Regions from separate parts of the Homo sapiens genome. Here all the other regions are linked to region 1. The links are contacts of gene promoters, found by promoter capture Hi-C in blood cells and fetal thymus (Javierre and others, 2016). All regions are on one chromosome and are shown on one strand. The core of a region is centred on a gene start or on the middle of the fragment in contact, and the rest is flanking DNA. Distances in the headings are between cores, read along the strand shown.

Region 1 (2,605 bases), core at 31-2,530:
AATGTGGTCAGGAGGGCTGAGACTGGGAACCAAGACTGCTGTATTTGCCTTGCTTTGTTGTCAAAAGCTCTTAGAGCTCCCATTTTCTACCCCCATTAACAGGCCTGAAGGGTGGTGCGGTGGCTCACGCCTGTAACCTCAGCACTTTAGGAGGCTGAGGCAAGTGGATTGCTTGAGCCCAGGAGTTCAAGACCAGCCTGGGCAACATAGCGAGACCCTGTCTCTGTGGGAAATTTAAAAATTAGCCAGGTGTGGTGGTGCGCACCTGTAGTCCCAACTACTAAGGAGGCTGAGGCAGAAGGATTGTCTGAGCCCAGGAATTCAAGGCTGCAGTGAGCTATGATTGTGCCACTACACTCCAGCCTGAACAACAGATTGAGACCTTACCTCAGTAAAATAAAATAAAATTTAAATTTTAAAAATGTAAGAAAAAAAGGAGGCCTGGCACTACTTCTAGGATGCCCCAAATTTAGGCAACTCTCACAGTCCCTTGAAAGAGAAGTGGCAGCTGGGTATAGGCCCTCCCAAGTGTCATGCCCCCTGACAGTCCTGATGGACTCTGCCCTGTGTAAGATTGCATCACCACCACCACCACCTCTCTGGGCTTCCCCAGACATCACAGGAACACGTTCCCCGCCCCAACCCCCGCCGGCTCTGGCCCTCCTCCACATCATGCTCCACATCATGCTCCAGGCCAACTGGACTCTGGGCGGCCAGCACAGGCAGGGTCAGGGGGTGACTTCTGTGCCTCGTGGCACTGCCACCTGGGCCTGAGCAAGAGGGCTCCATTCTCCTACCCGCCCAAACCCTCATCCCTGTCCTAGCCCCAGTGCTAGAAATAAAGAGACCAGAATTTTCCTTCTGGCCTAAGGGCCCCAGAGGAATACCCACTGGAACTCACAGCTGCCTCATGGAAACTGCTGCAGCAGTGGTGAAGCTAGAAAGACTAGAGGTATGAGGGAAAATTGCCCTTCCCCACCTGGCTCATAAGGCGTTCCCTCCCCCAAGTCCCAGACCTTGGGGACTGAGCATGTGAAATCATCCTCTTTCTTGCATCATGCGTGTCCACATTGCACCCCCCCACCCCCATACCCCTACTTCAGGCCCAGTCACCATGGCCAGATGGTGAAACCTGAGCTGATGGGGAGGAGGACCTCCACCCCCTGCAGGGGCCTGATGGGCAGCACAGCTGGCCAATCCTGGGACTCAGAGGGTAGGTCGGCTGGCTGACCACTAGGTTTGGAAGACCCAGGCAGCTGGCTCTAAAGAGGCCCCAGGTCAGTAGCCAGACATGAGCTGTGAGGGTCAAGCACAGCTATCCATCAGATGATCTACTTTCAGCCTTCCTGAGTCCCAGACAATAGAAGACAGGTGGCTGTACCCTTGGCCAAGGGTAGGTGTGGCAGTGGTGTCTGCTGTCACTGTGCCCTCATTGGCCCCCAGCAATCAGACTCAACAGACGGAGCAACTGCCATCCGAGGCTCCTGAACCAGGGCCATTCACCAGGAGCATGCGGCTCCCTGATGTCCAGCTCTGGCTGGTGCTGCTGTGGGCACTGGTGCGAGCACAGGGGACAGGGTCTGTGTGTCCCTCCTGTGGGGGCTCCAAACTGGCACCCCAAGCAGAACGAGCTCTGGTGCTGGAGCTAGCCAAGCAGCAAATCCTGGATGGGTTGCACCTGACCAGTCGTCCCAGAATAACTCATCCTCCACCCCAGGCAGCGCTGACCAGAGCCCTCCGGAGACTACAGCCAGGGAGTGTGGCTCCAGGGAATGGGGAGGAGGTCATCAGCTTTGCTACTGTCACAGGTGGGTGAGGGAGAGAGCAACAGGCAAAGAGCAGACAGGGAAAGGGAGGCAGAAGGGGAGCCTGGCAGGAGCAGCAGAGGGAGTGGGGTGTGGCAGGAGAAGGAGGAGCTGGGGCAGGGACTGGTTGCAGAGGACACAAAGCAGTCTCTACTTTTCTAGAGGTAGGTTCGAGGGAGAGCAGTGGGCAGGGCTTGGGGAGTCTCAGAGGAGAGCTTCATCTCTACTCACATTTTCTTTCCCTTTTCTGTCTTTCGGGCAGACTCCACTTCAGCCTACAGCTCCCTGCTCACTTTTCACCTGTCCACTCCTCGGTCCCACCACCTGTACCATGCCCGCCTGTGGCTGCACGTGCTCCCCACCCTTCCTGGCACTCTTTGCTTGAGGATCTTCCGATGGGGACCAAGGAGGAGGCGCCAAGGGTCCCGCACTCTCCTGGCTGAGCACCACATCACCAACCTGGGCTGGCATACCTTAACTCTGCCCTCTAGTGGCTTGAGGGGTGAGAAGTCTGGTGTCCTGAAACTGCAACTAGACTGCAGACCCCTAGAAGGCAACAGCACAGTTACTGGACAACCGAGGCGGCTCTTGGACACAGCAGGACACCAGCAGCCCTTCCTAGAGCTTAAGATCCGAGCCAATGAGCCTGGAGCAGGCCGGGCCAGGAGGAGGACCCCCACCTGTGAGCCTGCGACCCCCTTATGTTGCAGGCGAGACCATTACGTAGACTTCCAGGAACTGGGATGGCGGGACTGGATACTGCAGCCCGAGGGGTACCAGCTGAATTACTGCAGTGGGCA
Region 2 (2,605 bases), core at 41-2,540, 250 kb after region 1:
TTCTCATACTTTGGACTACAATTCAGTAAAAATTTATCTTAATGTATGTTATAAGGTTAGGACCTAGATACACCTATTTTCCACAGTTGCCCCAGCACTGTTTATTGAATAGTCCATACATTCCTCTCTGATTTGTAATGCCTCCTCAGTTATTTACCAAGTTCTCAAATATATGTGCATTTTCTTCTTGGCTTCTCTTTTGTTCCAATAGTCTATCTATTCCTATGTCATTACCACGTTGTTTTAATTACTATAGCTTTTTCATAAATCTTGGTATCTGGTAGGATATACTCCCCTTTTTTCTTCAAAACTGTTGGGGCTATCATTGGCCAAGTTCTGTTAAAACTCCTTTTGGGGATTTTGGCTGGAATTTAATTTTAGACTGATTTGAAGAGAATTGATACTTTATAATATGAAGTCTTCATACACTATGAACGTGTTTGTTTCCATTTACTTGTTGTCCTATATTTTAGTAAAGCTTTAATTTTCTCTAAAAGTTCTTCTACATCTTATGTGAGATTAGTCTAGATACCTTATAGTTTTTATTTTTGTCTTGTTTGTGTATGCATATATTTCAAACATACAGGACCTTATAGTTTTAGATGCTATTTTAAGTAGCATCTTTTACAAATTTCATTTTCTTTATTATTATTATTTTTTGAGATGGGGTCTTGCTCTGTCATCAAGGCTGGGGTGCGATCTTGGCTCACTGCAGCCTCTGCCTCCCAGGTTCAAGTGATTCTCTGCCTCAACCTCCCGAGTAGCTGGGATTACAGGTGCGTACCACCACGCCCAGCTAATTATTGTAATTTTTTTAGAGCGGGGGTTTTGTCATATTGGCCAGGCTAGTCTCAAACTCCTGGCCTCATGTGATCCACCGTCGGCCTACTAAAGTGCTGGGATTACAGGCAATGAGCCACTGTGCCTGGCCAAAAATTCCGTTTTCTGATTGTTGCTGGTACATGGTCACATTATTGGTTTTACATATTGATCTTACACTCAGCAACTCTTTTTTGAACTCTTTCATTTTTAGTAGTTCACAAATTCTTGTGGATTTTCTGTATAGATAATTATGTCATCTGCAAGAGAAACAGTTTTGGTTTCTTCCTTTCTAAGTTGTATACATTTCATTTTTCTTATACCTCGAGTGCAACAGAAGTGGCAATGATGGGCATCCTTGACTTGTTTCTGACTTTAAAGGGGATGCTCCTGAAGTTTCACTGTTAGCGTGATGTTTTCCTGCAGGCTTTTTGCAGATACCTTTTATCAGGTATGTGAAGTTCCATTCTGTACCTAGACTGCTGGATATTTTCACCATGTATAGGTGTGGAAGTTTAACACATGCTTATTCTGTGTCTATTGAGATAGTCATATGGTTTTTTTAATATTAAAAATGTTAATTTATTTTCTAGTTTTTTTTTATTCTTTCACTTCTGGGATAATCCATGGTCATGAAGTTTTTTTTTTGTACATTGCTATATTCAGTATCCTGATAGTATAATTAACTTTTATAACTATTTTCGTAAGTGAATTGGTCTATAATTTTCTCTTCTTGTACTTACCTTGTTTTTGTATAAAGTTGCATTCACTTCATAAAATATCTTGAGGAGCTTCCCTCTTTTTCTGCTCTGTGGAGCAGTTTGCTAAGATAGAGATTATTCTTCAAAGGTTAGGTAGGGTCGGGTGTGGTGGCTCATGCCTGTAATCCCAACACTTTGGGAGGCCAAGGCAGGAAGATTTCTTGAGCCTAGGAGCCCAGCCTGAGCAACATAGTGAGACTCCTGTCTCTCAAAAAAAAAGTTTTAAATTAGCCTGATGTGGTGGTGTACACCTGTAGTCCCAGTTACTTGGGAGGCTGAAGCAGGAGGATTGCTTTAGTTGGAGAGGTTGAGGCTGTTAGGAGCTGTTATCACGCCACTGGACTCCAGCCTGGGTGACAGAGCATGACTCTCTGAAAAAAAAAAAAAAAAAAAAAAAGTTTAGATAAAATAAATCCTCCCCATCCCCACAATATGCTACAAAACCGGTATATTGGGGGGATCGTTGTTGCTACTGATTTAATTTATTTAAAGATTATAAGACTTTTTTGGTTTGCTGCATCATGAAGCTTTAATAAAGTATAATTTCATAGGCCATTATTCATTTGTCTAAATTTTCAAATGTATTAGTATAAAATTACAGATTTTTTTGTTTTTTAATAATCTCTTTTTGTAAATATATCCTCTTTTGCATTCCTAATATTGACTTTGCCTTTTCTCTTTTTTCTTGATCTATGTTGCCAGAGGCTTGTCTAGTTTATTAGTCCAATAACCACCTTTTGGTTTTGTTTATCCTCTCTGTTGTTCATTTAGTATTTCACTAACATTGTATTAGTCCATTCTCACATTGTTATAAAGAAATACCTGTGACTGGGCAATTTATAAAGAAAAGAGGTTTAATTGTCTCACAGTTGTGCTGGCCATACAGGAAGCATAGCAGCCTCTACTTCTGAGGAGGATTTAGGAAGCTTCCAATCATGGTGAAAGGCAAGTGGGGAGCCAGAGTCTCACATGGTGGAAGCAGGAGCAAAAGAGAGAGGGGGGACATGCCACAACCAGATCTCTTG
Region 3 (2,605 bases), core at 68-2,567, 220 kb after region 1:
GTGTAGATTCAATGGTTTTTAGTATATTCACAGAGTTGTGCACTACAATCAGTTCTAGAACATTTTTATCACCCCCAAAAAAACTCTGCACCCGTTAGCAGTCACTACCCATTTCCCAACTTTCAGTGAGCTCCCCAGCCCAACGTAACCTCTTATCTACTTTCTGTCCATTGAATTACCTATTCTGGGCATTTCATATAAATGTAATCACACAATATGTGGTTTTGAAGACTAGCTTTGTTCACTTAGCCTCTTTTATCCTCTTTTCTCTTTTTTTTTGAGATGGAGTCCTGCTCTGTCACCCAGGCTGGAGTGCAGTGGCGCAATTTCAGCTCACCGCAACCTTGGCTGGCCTCCCGGGTTCAAGCAATTCTCCTGCCTCAGCCTCCCAAGTAGCTGAGATTATAGGCACCCGCCACCATGCTCGACTAATTTTTTTTTGTATTTTTAGTAGAATGTGGTTTCACCATGTTGGCCAGGCTGGTCTCGAACTCCTGGCCTCAGGTGATCCGCCCGCCTTGGCCTCCCAAGGTGCTGGGATTACACGCATGAGCCACCGCACCTGGCCTAGAGTATATGTTTTGTACTTCTTTGCTACGTGTGTTTCTAATTATTTTATTCTTTTTGACGGTATTGCAAATGAAATTATGTTCTTTTGTTCTTAGATTGTTCATTGCAAGTGTATAGAAATACAATTGATTCTTGTATTCTGCAACCTTGTTGAATTCTTCTATTAGTTCTAATAGATTTTTTAGTGAATTCCTTAGGATATTTTAGATATAAGGTCATCTGCAAATAGAGATGGTTTTGTTTTTCTCTCCAATCTGTATGCCTTTTACATTCATTCATTCATCTACATACAACATTCATCTTCTTGCCTAATTACACTGGCTAGAATGTCCGGTACAATGTCAAATAGAAATGGTAAGAGTAGGTATTCTTGTCTTATTCCTAATATTAGAGAGAGTAATCATTCATTTTTTACCAAAAAGTATGATATTAGTTGTGGGTTTTTTGTAGATGCTTGATGACTTTTATCAGGTTGATTAAGTCCCTTTATCTTCCTGGTTTATTAAATGTTTTTATCATGAAGAGATGTTGAATTTTGTCAAATGTCTTTTCTGTGTCTACTAAGATGACCATGTGGTTTTTGTCCTTTAGTCTATGGATAGGATGTACAACATTAATTTTATTTCTTATGTTAACTCAAGCTTTCATTCCTGGGATAAATCCCACTTGGTCGTGGTATATAATCCTTTTTATTTGTTGTTGAATTCATGGTAATTTGTGGAGAATTTCTGGGTCTATATTCATAAGAAATAGTCTACAGTTTTCTTGTATTGTGTTTGTCTGATTTTGGTATCTGAGTAGTATTACCTCATTGAATGGGCTTGGAAGAGCTTCATTTTCTTCTATTTTTGGAAAAGCTTGTGAAGAAATAGTATTGACATTTTCTTCATGGGAAGTTTCTGATTTATAATTCAATCTTTTCTAGGAGGCTGCTGAAGATGGCGGAGGGGCAGGTCCTAGTGCTCGATGGCCGAGGTCACCTCCTGGGCTGCCTGGCGGCCATCGTGGCTAAGCAGGTGCTGCTGGGCCGGAAGGTGGTGATCGTGCGCTGCGAGGGCATCGACATTTCTGGCAATTTCTACGGAAACAAGTTGAAGTACCTGGCTTTCCTCCGCAAGCGGATGAACACCAGCCCTTCCCGAGGCCCCACGTCTTCTGGCAGAGCTTGCGAGCCGGGCCGCCCCACGACAGCAGCCAGCCAGGCCGCCTAGGACCTGCCGCCAGGTGTTCGGTGGCGTCCCACCGCCCCGTGAGAGGAAAAAGCGGATGGTGCTTCCTGTTGCCCCCAAGGTTGTGCGTCTGAAGCCTACGAGAAAGTTCGCCTACCTGGGGTACCTGGCTCACGAGATTGGCTGAAAGTACCAGACCGTGACAGCCACCCTGGAGGAGAAGGGGAAGGAGAAAGCCAAGATCCAGGACCAGAAGAAACAACTCCTGAGGCTATGGAGACAGGCCGAAAAGAATGTGGAGAAGAAAATTGACAAATACAGGGAGGTCCTCAAGGCCCACGGACTCCTGGCCTGAGCCCGGTAAAGACTGTTTATTACTTATGCTTGGCCTGGCCTGCCCTTCCTCCATCGTGGCCCTGGAATGTGGGAGACCCAGGGGCAGCAGTCCAGGTGCCACAGGCAGCCTGGGACTTAGGAAGCTTGGGAGCAAGGAAAGGGTCTTAGTCACTGCCTTTCAATAAGGTTACTTAAAGCCCTCGAAGAATTGTGCAGGCATAATTCATCTGTGACCAATAGAGCAACAAATTACTTCAGTTTCAATATCAGCGAAAGGGAGCTGGAACACTAATTGGAGGGGCCCTACCTTGTGAGCAGGGCATCTGTTTAACTTCCCAACTAGTCATACACTATACTTTGCAGCTGTTAGAATGTGAACAAGCGCTTGGGGGACAGCATTAGCTTGCTGTTGTACGAAGGGTATTTATAAAAGCACAGACTGGGAAGATGTGTGATCAAGGAGTTACAGGCATTGCCCGTGCTTCTTGCCTGTATTTTGTGATCGGAATCAAATAAATTACTTTTATTCC
Region 4 (2,605 bases), core at 51-2,550, 190 kb after region 1:
GGCACATCTGGTCCTAACCAGTTTTTTGCACTCTATGTAAATCAGACACCGCCTCCCCATCAGCTCATCTATAAAACTCCCTGCATTTCACTGTGGATCCAGCAATCCATTTTTCCAGGACCCCTTTCTGTAGCAGAGAGCTATTCACTTTCTTTTGCCAATTAAACGTCCATTCTCTTTTTTTTTTTTTTGAGACGGAGTCCCTGTCTGTCGCCCAGGCTGGAGTGCAGTGGCGCAATCTTGGCTCACTGCAACCTCCGCCTCTTGGGTTCAAGTGATTCTCCTGCCTCAGCTTCCCAAGAACCTGGGATTACAGGCACCCACCACTACACCTGGCTAATTTTTGTATTTTTAGTAGAGATGGGGTTTCACCATGTTGACCAGGCTGCTCTCGAACTCCTGATCTCAGGTGATCTGCCTGCCTTGGCCTCCCAGAGAGCCGGGATTACAGGCATAAGCCACCGCGCCGAGCGTTTTTTTTTTTTTTTTTTTTTTTTTTTTTTTTTGGAGACAGAGTTTAGCTCTTGTAGCCCAGGCTGGAGTCAATGGTGTGATCTTGGCTCACTGCAACCTCTGCCCCCTGGGTTCAAGCAATTCTCCTGCCTCAGCCTCCCAAGTAGCTGGGATTACAGGTGCCTGCCACCACACCCAGCTAATTTTTGTATTTTTAGAGGAGACAGGGTTTCACCATGTTGGCCAGGCTGGTCTCGAACTCCTGACCTCAGGTGATCCACCCACCTTGGCCTCCCAAAGTGCTGGGATTACAGGCATGAGCCACCACGCCTGGCCCTAAACTTCCATTCTTAACCTCACTCTTGTGTGTTCGTGTCCTTGATCTTTGTGGCTGTGAGATAATAAACCTTGGGTATCACCCCAGACAATAAGGCTGCTTCAGTAATGAGATTTAAAAAAAATTTTTGTTTTTGAGATGGAGTCTTGCTCTGTTGCCCAGGCTGGAGTGCAGTGGTGCAATCTCAGCTCACTGCAGCTTCCACCTCCCAAGTTCAAATGATTCTCTTGCCTCAGCCTCCCAAGTAGCTGGGACTACAGGTGAGTGCTGCCATGCCTGGCTAATTTTTTGTATTTTTAGTAGAGATGGGGTTTCACCATGTTAGCCAGGATGGTCTTGATCTCCTGACCTTGTGATCTGCCAGCCTCAGCCTCCCAAAGTGCTGGGATTACAGGTGTGAGCCACCGCGCCTGGCCTAAAAAAAAAAACAAAAAAAAGAAAAAAAATTTTTTTAAAGCAGCTTAATGGTTAAAGTCAGCTTAATTAAAAGCTAACATCCAAAATGTATGTGTGTATGAGAGCGTGTGTATGTTTGTATTTAAAAGGCCTTCATGTTCGTTTTTTTTTTTTTTTTTTGAGACGGAGTTTAGCTCTTGCTGCCCAGGCTGCAGTGCAATGGCATAATCTCGGCTCACTGCAACTTCCGCCTCCTGGTTTCAAGTTATTCTCCTGCCTCAGCCTCCCAAGTAGCTGGGATTACAGGCACTCCACACCATGCCTGGCTAATTTTTTGTATTTTTAGTACAGATGGAATTTCACCATGTTGGTCAGGCTGGTCTTGAACTCCTGACCTCAGGTGATCCACCCACCTCAGCCTCCCAAAGTGCTGGGATTACAGGCATGAGCCACCACGCCCGGCCCTCTCTGTATCTTATGATGTAAATTTTGCTATTTAATTTTCACCTGGGTTATTTCCTTTAATATGCAAATTTAAGTCTGTTTTGCTAACAACTGCCTAGGGTTGTGAAGCAGGTTATCAAGAATCTGAAAGTCTAAGACAGGGGGAAAAAAAGGGTTTTTTGAATCTATAAGATGTACCTTGATAGGCATGAAATACATGCACATCTATGTATTTATGTGTTGTGTACACAATGTTTCACTACTGAAAATATATAAAAGAGCTCTAATTAATTGGCTTAAAGAAAAGTAAAAGTGCTTGAATCATATACTTTATCAAGAAAAAAGAAAAGACTAGTCAAATGCTTTTTCAAGTTTACAGAACTTAAGTAAAATCTTTAATAAATAAACTAGCTTTAAAATTATTGGTAAAATAATATTAGAAATGTCATAAGAATTGCCAGCATACATTTTTATTTGCATTTCTTAATCAAGCAATTTCATACTTATCCCTGCCAAATACTATAAGTTGTCAAAACTTGGCATAGGGCTTACAAAATTATAAACCTAGCCCAAGACAGAATAAAACTTTGCTTGTATAGTCTTTAATAAATAAGACATTGATATTGGTTTAATGAAAATAACTACATCTTGAATTATTTAATAAAATTACCATAACTTCTAATTCTGTGACTTTAGGCAGTCTAGTCCACAGGTAGTAATGAGGTTTGTTTTGGGAAAGAACTGCTATTTGTTTGAACTGCTATTAGTTTAGCTTTGTCTGAAAGCTAAACTATAAGCTAAGTTCCTCCCAAAGTCCAGGATGAGCAAGGGCAGTTTGGAGGTTAGAAGCAAGATGGAGTCAGTTAGGTTAAATCTTTTCACTGTCTCAGTTATAATTTTGCAATGGTGGTTCCATAACTTTAAACAATGACTATTGCAGTTTTCATAAATAATCTAGATAAAAAATTAGGCCAG
Region 5 (2,605 bases), core at 49-2,548, 170 kb after region 1:
GGAACTAGAGGCTCAGGGACAGCCAGTAGAGTGCTCACAGGGTGGTGGGGTTTGTTGGAAATTCCTGGCAGGGACAAGGAGGCAGGCCCAGCCTGACAGTCAGAAATCCCCAGCGGGCCATCACTGGGAGGTCATGCACTGCAGCCGGTGTTTGAAGAAGAGCAGCCGGTGTTTGGCCATCTGGCTCTCGTCCAGTGATCCTGGGTAACGGTACCGGGCGTAAGTCTCTGCTCCGGCATCCCTTGATGTCCAAGGCAGCTTCAGTTTGGATGCATGATCCACCACGACGTCGGAGCAGGAGCCAACCCGAAGGGAACCAAGCCCATCCAAGAAGAATTCTGGGGGTGGAGGGGAGTACACAGTGAGGGATCCTGAGGGTGCAGAAGGCCGACTGGTAAGGGAGAACTCTCAAATTTAGGGTGTGGAAAGTGTGTGTGCAAAGGCTTGTTTCTAAGGACCCTGAGCATGTAAATCAACTCCCTGGGTCTCAGTCTTACTCTTGTGTAAATGGAGTCAATATACTTGTGCTTTGAAAATCGAAAAACCTACCCCTACTCCCAGAGGTTAAATAAACGCCAGATGGGTTGCACCGACTGTGGTCTGAACTAGGGGAAGCCCTGGGAGTAGAGCAGGGGTGGCGGGAACAGTGATGGGGAAGCTTATGGGGGCCCAGCGGCTGTGCTGGGAATGGAGATTCAACATGGCACATGTATACACATGTAACAAACCTGCACGTTGTGCACATGTACCCTAGAACTTAAAGTATAACAAAAAATATATATATTTATAAAAAAAAAAAAAGAGTATGCGGGGCTGGGAGAGGGTGGGAGCTGTCTCTCGCCCAGGTGCAGGTCTTGGTAAATCACTGCAGAACTGTTCTGGGGTTCCCGCTGGCGGCTGGGCGCGGGTGCAGCCTAGGAGGAGAGGCGCGTGACCGTGCGCCAGCTCCCCGTGGGGCTCCTGCCAGGGTCGACCGGGAGGGGGTGCCACTCACCCAGATGAGCCACGCGGCTGAGGCGGGGGTCGAAACCGACCTCGCGCACCTTGTCAGTCCGCGCCAGGAAGAAGTTAACCACGCCGTCGGTGACCACGCAGCCTGGGAAGCCGACGAGCTCGTGGTGGAAGCCGCGCCTTTGCCGGAGGCAGTTCCCGAGGCCTGGGGCGCCGGGCTCCACGCTCAGCAGCTGCCGATAAGTGGTGGCAAAGCCGGAGATCTCGCGCACCGCGCCCCCCACCTGCAGGGAGAGGGAGGTTGCCTCCAGGCGGGCCTGGGATAGGGGACCCGAAGGGGTCAAGGTCTGCGCTCCGGTGCCTTCGGGGGTACCCCTGCCCCATCCTCTTCCGCTTCACCCCTGCAGGACCCAGACAGTTCCCAGGCCCCACTTCGTGGTTCTCTCTTTGTCCTAGGGCTGGCCGTTCCTGGCCGCAGCGCCCCCGCTGTGGCCTTAGCCTGTTCAAGGCCCTTCTCCACCCCCACATCCTGCAGCCCCTGCCCTACCAGGTCCAGCGGCGTCCGCTCCAGCACGTCCACAAGCCTCTCCAGCCGCGTCCGCGCCGTGAAGACGAAGTCGTCGTCCACCCACAGCACGTACTTGGTGGTTACTTGAGACACGGCCAGGTTCCGGCCTGCGAACCAGCCCTGGCAGAAAGGTGTGTGTGGTTGGGGAGGCTGCAGAAATAGGACATGGCCCTCTGCCACCTTTCTTTCTCTCCCCCGACCCTTCTCAGCTTGTATTCTTCTCCAGACTTTTGAGTGCTTTCGAAAGGCCAGGAGCTAGGTAAAAGAAATGCAGATCCCCACAGAGGTTCCAAGTCAGTGGTCTTAGAATGCGTTTAATTTCCGTGTGCATTTATTTATTCATTCATCAGCTATTTTATTGAATGCCATTAGGCACTAAGCACCATTCTAAGAATTCAGAGAGAATTTCCTGCTCCCACGAAGCTTACATTCCAGGAATCCTCATGCTTAACAGGCACCCCATGATTCTGAGGCAGGTGGTCCTCGAATCACTACCCTGGAGGCTGCAGATTGAGGGCACACCCCCTGCGGGAGTCCTCTGGCCTGCCGTTCAGCCTGCTAGCTGCACACCTTGCCGAAGGGCATGAGATAGTGTTCCACGTAGGGGCCACTAACGCGCTCTGGCTTGTCGCTGTCGTCAGCGATGACCACGGTAACCGTTGGGTAGAAGCGGCGGATACTGGTGATGAGAGCCCGTAGCCGATCATAACGGAGGAAGGTCTTGGTGGCAATCGTGACTAGAGCGCTGATGTTGTACTGGGCTGAGATTGGGGGCACAGGGTTGGGTGCAGACAAGGAGGGTTGGGAGAGGGGAACAGGTAGATATCCCCTCCCAGGACTGCCCTCTCCCAACTTGCTCCCCACCAAGGCTGGTTCTAATATGTCCCTGCCCCTACCAGCCTCACCTCCCTGGGGTAGAGACCCAGGTGGGTACAGCCGAGGGTTGGGCGGGTGTCTTATGCGGATAGTGAAAGCAGCCTCATGTCCCTCGGTGGAGAACCGGACTGGGAAGAAAGGACATGGCATTTGACCCTGAAGGGTGGGATAACATTCTGTTTTCAGCCAATCAATATTTAAGTGCCTACT
Region 6 (2,605 bases), core at 27-2,526, 150 kb after region 1:
TGGGTTTCTAGACAGATGGCTGTGAACTTTTTTAAAAAGGCTGTGAAGGGTGTGCACGGGAATGGAAAACTTAGTCTTTAACCTTGTGGGAGGTCAGCGGTAGTGAGGGCCAGGGAAGAGTAGGGTGATGGGACCCTTCCTCTTCCCAGAGTTCTGGGCTTGCTAACACTCCATCTTTGTAAAGGTGAGTAGGCCTCTCAGCCCACCAGCTAAAAGAAAAGGAATCTAGTATTCCCCCAGGCTTCCTGGGAAAGCTGTCCTCTTCCTGGAGGGAAGGAAGAGTACAGCAGGGTCCTGGGAAAGTGAAGAAAGTGACTAGCCCTCCAGTCTAGAGGGGGGAGTGAAAAAGGGGTGGATGAATAGAGGTTGTTGCCAGTTTGGGAGATTCCTGCCTGTCTTGGCTGAGGAAGTCTTTTGGCTGGTGGAAAAACCTGGCTTGATGTGGCCCCAGGGAAGTGAGTTGGATTGGGCGGAGACTGCTTGATGTGGGAAGCAGAGCAGAGCTTTTTTTTTTTCTTCTTTGAGAGTTTTTAACTCTATTTGAACCATACACTTGACACCACCACCACCTCGAGCCACTTTTTAAAAAATGTATTCGCTTCCCATTCTGCACCAGCCTCCATATCCCTGTTTGTGGAAAGAAAAATCAGAGGCACTGACCAATGATCATCTGAGAGCAGGTTGTGGGGGTCATAGGAGGTAACAATCTAGAAAGAGGCAGGAGATGAGGGAGGGGATTGAAATAGTTTAGTACCCGGATTTGTTTATTTTTTAGAGCCAATGCTTTTCTTTTTACTATGACTCTTCCCATCCCACATTGTTCCTCAAAGGCCCTTCTACCATAAGGATTCAAAAAATTGCCGCCCTCCCCCCGAATCCCCATATACCCACCAACACTTCACCCACCCATCCACCACCAGCTCCTGGGAGCTGCTACGCAGCTGGCTGGGAAAGAAAAGGGAGAGTGCTCCGCCGGGAGCGGGGAGCGAGTAGGGTGGCGTCTCCAGGGATTTAACCTCCTACCCTCAGTTCCATGACGCCACCCCCTCCCTCCAAAGACTGGGACAGCGCCTCCATTTTTGTTTTGGGGAGGAAGGGCAGGGGCTTGCGGATAGAAGGGGGTCAAAGGAACGGTGATTATCACCTGTGAGGGGAAAGGGGGTGCTGTCCTCCCTCCTTCCCTTTTCCTCAGCCTGCACCCCCTGCAATCCCCCACCTTTCGGGGTCTCCCCCTCCTTGTTGCTAAGGCCCGGACCGTCATCCCAGCAACAGCCTCAGTCATGTGACCGGCAATGGCGGCGCTGACGAGAGGTAGGTGAGCCCGGCGCCCCCCACACCCACCGCGCGCCCCCCGGGCCCCGCTCGCACCCCTCACGCGCCCCCCGCTCCCCCGGCGCCCCCTCCTCCACCTCCCCTCCCCGCGCGCGGCTCCGGGCTCCCCGCTCCGTGCCCGGCCGATCATCTTTCTAGCACCCTCCAGCCTTGGCCTCCATTCGGGGGTTCTGAGGGCTGCGATCGGGCCGACATGCACCCCCACCCGGCGGTGGGGATCCGGGGGCTTTGGCTACTGAGGGATGTGGGGAGTTGGTTCCGGGTCGGGTCTTGGAGGAGGCCGTGGGGGGAGGGCGGGAGCTGCTTCAGTGGATGCCCCCAGGGACCCTTGCCCATCCGGGCTGTGCCTCCCTCTGGCCTCTGTCTGGAGGGAGAGACTGGTTCCTTGTCCGGCCTGGGTTGCCACAGAGGAATCACAGACCCACCCTAAACTGGGGCCCCGCCTCCCTTTTCTGTGCCAGCAGGACTTGGACCTAGGACACCTAGGTCCTGGGTCCCCCGTGATGGGGAGAGAAGTGTTGCATCGCGGATAGACTGTATGGGCTGAGACTCTAGGGTTCCATTTTCACTTATGAATCTCGAGGTGCATCTGGCCTTGGGGGACGATGATGGAGGCATGAAGGGACAGCTGCTCCTTCTTGGATCAGTCAATAAATGGAGGTCACACTAATGGCCCTTCTTTCTGTTTGAGCTGCATTTGGAAGTGTTGTGGAGACAGCCCCGTAGCCCAATGCGACCAGACTCAGGGAAAACATCAGGCCCCTCCAGCTGAGCCCTTGTGTGAGCCCCGCCCCTCCCTAAATGCCAGACTTGGGAGCTGACAGACAGCACTGCCTGTGCTGGGTTTAAAAGGTGACAATGAGAACTTTGTTATTGCAGGGGCTGCTGCCACTTTGTTCACATCCTTAACAGACTTCAGCAGAAGGGACTGAGTTAGCTCTCAAGGAAGGCTCCCTGGCAATAGGGGCTGAATTATTTGGCAATGTGGAGCAGGCGAGGAGTTGGGGAGCATAGGAAATATTCCGGTCCATGTGATCTGAGGGAGGTGGCAAGAAGACCTCCACCTGTGTGGGCGTTTTCTTTCCTGACTTCTCTTATGTGTGCCCTAGGCTTTCTTGGGGGCCTCAGAGCTGGGGAAGAAAGGAGGAAGGTTAGCATGTTGAAGTTCCTTCTTGAGCAACTTGGGGAGAAGCTGATAATGGAATTCTGCAGAGAAGAGAGGAGATGGAAGGGGAGTTTTTATTTCTGGGTTGGCTGAGGGGAATGGTAACAT
Region 7 (2,605 bases), core at 53-2,552, 130 kb after region 1:
ATACTGAAGAGGACTGTTGTTTTAGTTTCAGACGGTCCTTTCCTTCCACATGGTGCTAAGGTGGTTTTCTAGGTAACTGCAGGGATGGAGGTCACTAGCCATTCCAAACCAGGAGAGAAAGTCTGGTGTCCTGATATCCAGTCTTTTCTAGGAGGAAGACCAAGATTCTCCAGCGGCAGGGCAGCCTATCACCCAACTTCTAAGTCAGGAAAGGAAGCTGAGTGGGAATGCCAGCTGGTAAGCGCAGGCTGCACTGGCCCATGACTCCTTCAAGGAAAAGAGGCCCTGCTCCCTTTACCTGCTGAGCTCCTTTTAGCAGTTAGGGAGAACTGCAGGGGGAAAAATACCAGTGGAGTGTGGAATAAATCCAAAGCAGTGATTTTTAAATGTTTTTCAAAAACAAATCTTACATAGAACCCCAATATAAAAAATAAAGTAATGCAGACCTGGGCAGTTTGCATTTTTTTTTTTTTTTTTTTTTGGTGGAAGAAGTCTCAGCGTCTCTTAGGACTGACTGTTCAAAGGCTCCTCAGCAAATGAGCCCTTGAACAGTCCTAAGAGACCCTGAGGATTCTGTGGAGTAGTTTGAAAACCATTGTTCTGAGGAAGGGGGTCCAATCTGGCTCCTCTGCACTAAAGCTGCAACTCATGGAAAAGAGGGCAACGGTGGGGTAGACAAGCCATGCTGTCTCCAGACCCACTAGGGTGGAAGGAAGGTTCCTGTGGGCCTGTGGACTTAGGCTAATATTTGCTGTCAGCAGGGCACTTAAGAATCCAGGGGGTTTTATGTAATGTTGCCACCACATGGTTCTTTTAAAAACACATAAGGAAATGTGAGGGTGTAGCGCAGATGAGGAGAGAGATGACACAGAGGGAGCAGCCTTCTCTTTAGCAAGATGTAAGGGAAATATAATTCACTTACATAAAAAAGAAACAACACACACGCAAACCCTTCACCAGAAGCTTCACACTACATCCTCCTCCTCCTCCTGCTCCCCACCTTCACCGCATCCCTTTCAGAGCCAGGGTCACTGCAAGGGGCACCTGGCCTGCCCACTCACATCTGCCAAAATGTTGCATGCCAGCGTGGAAGACAAACCAAACTGCGCAACCCCCTGTGTGTATTTACTTGGTGTACATAGATAACTTTAAAATAAAATAAATTCAATGATAACTCTATGTTGTTGTAAATATTCTTTATCCCTTCCCAATCTCACTGCCTTCTTTGGATGAAATGGAACTTGATAGAATATATCCTTCCAGATGTTTTTCTATAGATTTACATAAGGCTTGATTTTTTTCCTACTTGACAATATATCCTGGAGATCTTTGTATGTCAATATATATCAATTGACCTCATTAAAATATAATTTTTCACATATTTATCCTACAGTTCATTCAACCAGTCTACGACTGGTGGATATCTATACTGTTTGTAATTTTTACCAAAAGCACTATCTTGTTCTTTCATTTTTGACCCAGAGCAGTCTCAGTCCTGGCATCAATTCCTTCCCACTCCAGTGTTTCACCATCTCTCCACAGCCAACAGATCAATATTCCTGTCCCAGGATCATCCACTACAATCACCCTTCCAACCCCCATTTTAAAGCATACTCCACCTCTCTTCTCTGCTCATATCTCAAAGCTTCTCAGATGGAGAAAACTGCACACCCAAAAAACTGGGGCAAGTAAAACTGAAGAGCCTACAAACCTGCCCGGACTTTCGGTGCTTCTCACTTTCCTCTCCTATCTCCCAGAGCAAGGGTCTACACCCTTTCCACCCTCCTCTGTCAGGCAACAACTTTGTCATCTAAGGCACTTGAGCCTGAAATTCTTTTATCTTGCCCCCTGCCCACATGCACCTACACAATTACCTATCTGTGTCTGCACTTATCCTTTCCTTCTCCCTTCTGACCAGTGATAAATCTCCTTTCTCTGGGCTAAAGTGAATCCCTTCTAGATATTTCATTCTTGAGATACTGATATAGAATCTCAATATACAAATATATAACATATCTAAAACTGATAAACTGATGGAGACTTGAGGAGTTTGCATCTTTTTTTTTTTTTTAAAACAGAGTCTCGCTCTGTTGCCCAGGCTGGAGTGCAGCGGCACAATCTCGGCTCACAGCAACCTCCGCCTCTCAGGTTCAAGCAATTCTCCTGCTTCAGCCTCCTGAGTATCTGGGACTACATGTGCACACCACCATGCCCGGCTAATTTTTGCATTTTTAATGGAGATGGGTTTTCACCATGTTGGCCAGGCTTGTCTCAAACTCCTGGCCTCAAGTGATCCGCCCGCCTCGGTGCATCTTCTTTATTAATGCCTGTCTCAGTGGTCTCATCTCCTTGTAAGGTCCTTCCCATAAGAGTCCCTCCCTTTACTGTGTGTTTCTCTAACTGTGTGTTTCTCTATCTTACTTGTTTTCTTAAAGTCAGATATCCAGAAACCATCCCAAGCTTCCCATCCCCACTTCCTCACCCCCTATTCATTCCTTAGCCCACCTTGATCTGCCTCTTGTTCTGCTCAAAACTGCTTTTCCAAATGGCATTAGTTACCAAATACAGTGGACATTTCTTCTGGACAACAGTCCTTGTTTTGCTT

What was found. The method cuts DNA at HindIII sites, captures the fragments that hold promoters and counts their contacts. A CHiCAGO score of 5 or more calls a contact.
Region 2: a contact is called between a fragment that was not itself captured here and the fragment with the promoter of INHBE in region 1, in 3 of 17 cell types (M2 macrophages, naive CD8 T cells and erythroblasts). The highest score is 6.8, in M2 macrophages.
Region 3: a fragment that was not itself captured here is called in contact with the fragment with the promoter of INHBE in region 1 in 4 of 17 cell types (erythroblasts, M1 macrophages, naive CD8 T cells and 1 more); the score reaches 8.1 in erythroblasts.
Region 4: a fragment that was not itself captured here is called in contact with the fragment with the promoter of INHBE in region 1 in 1 of 17 cell types (M2 macrophages); the score reaches 5.2 in M2 macrophages.
Region 5: a contact is called between a fragment that was not itself captured here and the fragment with the promoter of INHBE in region 1, in 5 of 17 cell types (naive CD4 T cells, naive CD8 T cells, naive B cells and 2 more). The highest score is 6.7, in naive CD4 T cells.
Region 6: a contact is called between the fragment with the promoter of DTX3 here and the fragment with the promoter of INHBE in region 1, in 2 of 17 cell types (neutrophils and M2 macrophages). The highest score is 6.7, in neutrophils.
Region 7: a fragment that was not itself captured here is called in contact with the fragment with the promoter of INHBE in region 1 in 4 of 17 cell types (naive CD8 T cells, total CD8 T cells, naive B cells and 1 more); the score reaches 8.7 in naive CD8 T cells.

The regions. Positions count from the first base shown.
Region 1 is chr12:57,454,027-57,456,631 of GRCh38, forward strand. It overlaps INHBE (inhibin subunit beta E), which reads left to right and starts at 1,281. Exons shown (of 2, transcript NM_031479.5): 1 at 1,281-1,808; 2 at 2,068-2,605. The coding sequence starts at 1,511. RefSeq lists an enhancer at 960-1,254. The HindIII fragment of the contact is 16,061 bases long and covers 1-2,605 here.
Region 2 is chr12:57,704,893-57,707,497 of GRCh38, forward strand. All of the region lies in intron 5 of OS9 (OS9 endoplasmic reticulum lectin), which reads left to right. Among named protein-coding and RNA genes, the nearest start is that of OS9, 12 kb to the left of the region's middle. The HindIII fragment of the contact is 1,629 bases long and covers 477-2,105 here.
Region 3 is chr12:57,673,157-57,675,761 of GRCh38, forward strand. It overlaps the pseudogene RPL13AP23. Among named protein-coding and RNA genes, the nearest start is that of OS9, 20 kb to the right of the region's middle. The HindIII fragment of the contact is 216 bases long and covers 1,210-1,425 here.
Region 4 is chr12:57,642,738-57,645,342 of GRCh38, forward strand. No RefSeq gene overlaps it. Among named protein-coding and RNA genes, the nearest start is that of B4GALNT1, 11 kb to the left of the region's middle. The HindIII fragment of the contact is 3,621 bases long and covers 1-2,605 here.
Region 5 is chr12:57,626,624-57,629,228 of GRCh38, forward strand. B4GALNT1 (beta-1,4-N-acetyl-galactosaminyltransferase 1) reads right to left here. Exons shown (of 11, transcript NM_001478.5): 7 at 2,425-2,523; 8 at 2,090-2,280; 9 at 1,499-1,639; 10 at 995-1,235; 11 at 1-338. The coding sequence ends at 121. Among named protein-coding and RNA genes, the nearest start is that of B4GALNT1, 5.3 kb to the right of the region's middle. The HindIII fragment of the contact is 1,284 bases long and covers 657-1,940 here.
Region 6 is chr12:57,603,548-57,606,152 of GRCh38, forward strand. DTX3 (deltex E3 ubiquitin ligase 3) reads left to right here and starts at 1,277. Exons shown (of 7, transcript NM_178502.4): 1 at 1,277-1,311; 2 at 2,024-2,184. RefSeq lists enhancers at 647-1,158, 1,159-1,671. The HindIII fragment of the contact is 28,357 bases long and covers 1-2,605 here.
Region 7 is chr12:57,585,455-57,588,059 of GRCh38, forward strand. KIF5A (kinesin family member 5A) reads left to right here. Exons shown (of 29, transcript NM_004984.4): 29 at 1-1,179. Among named protein-coding and RNA genes, the nearest start is that of PIP4K2C, 4.4 kb to the right of the region's middle. The HindIII fragment of the contact is 682 bases long and covers 962-1,643 here.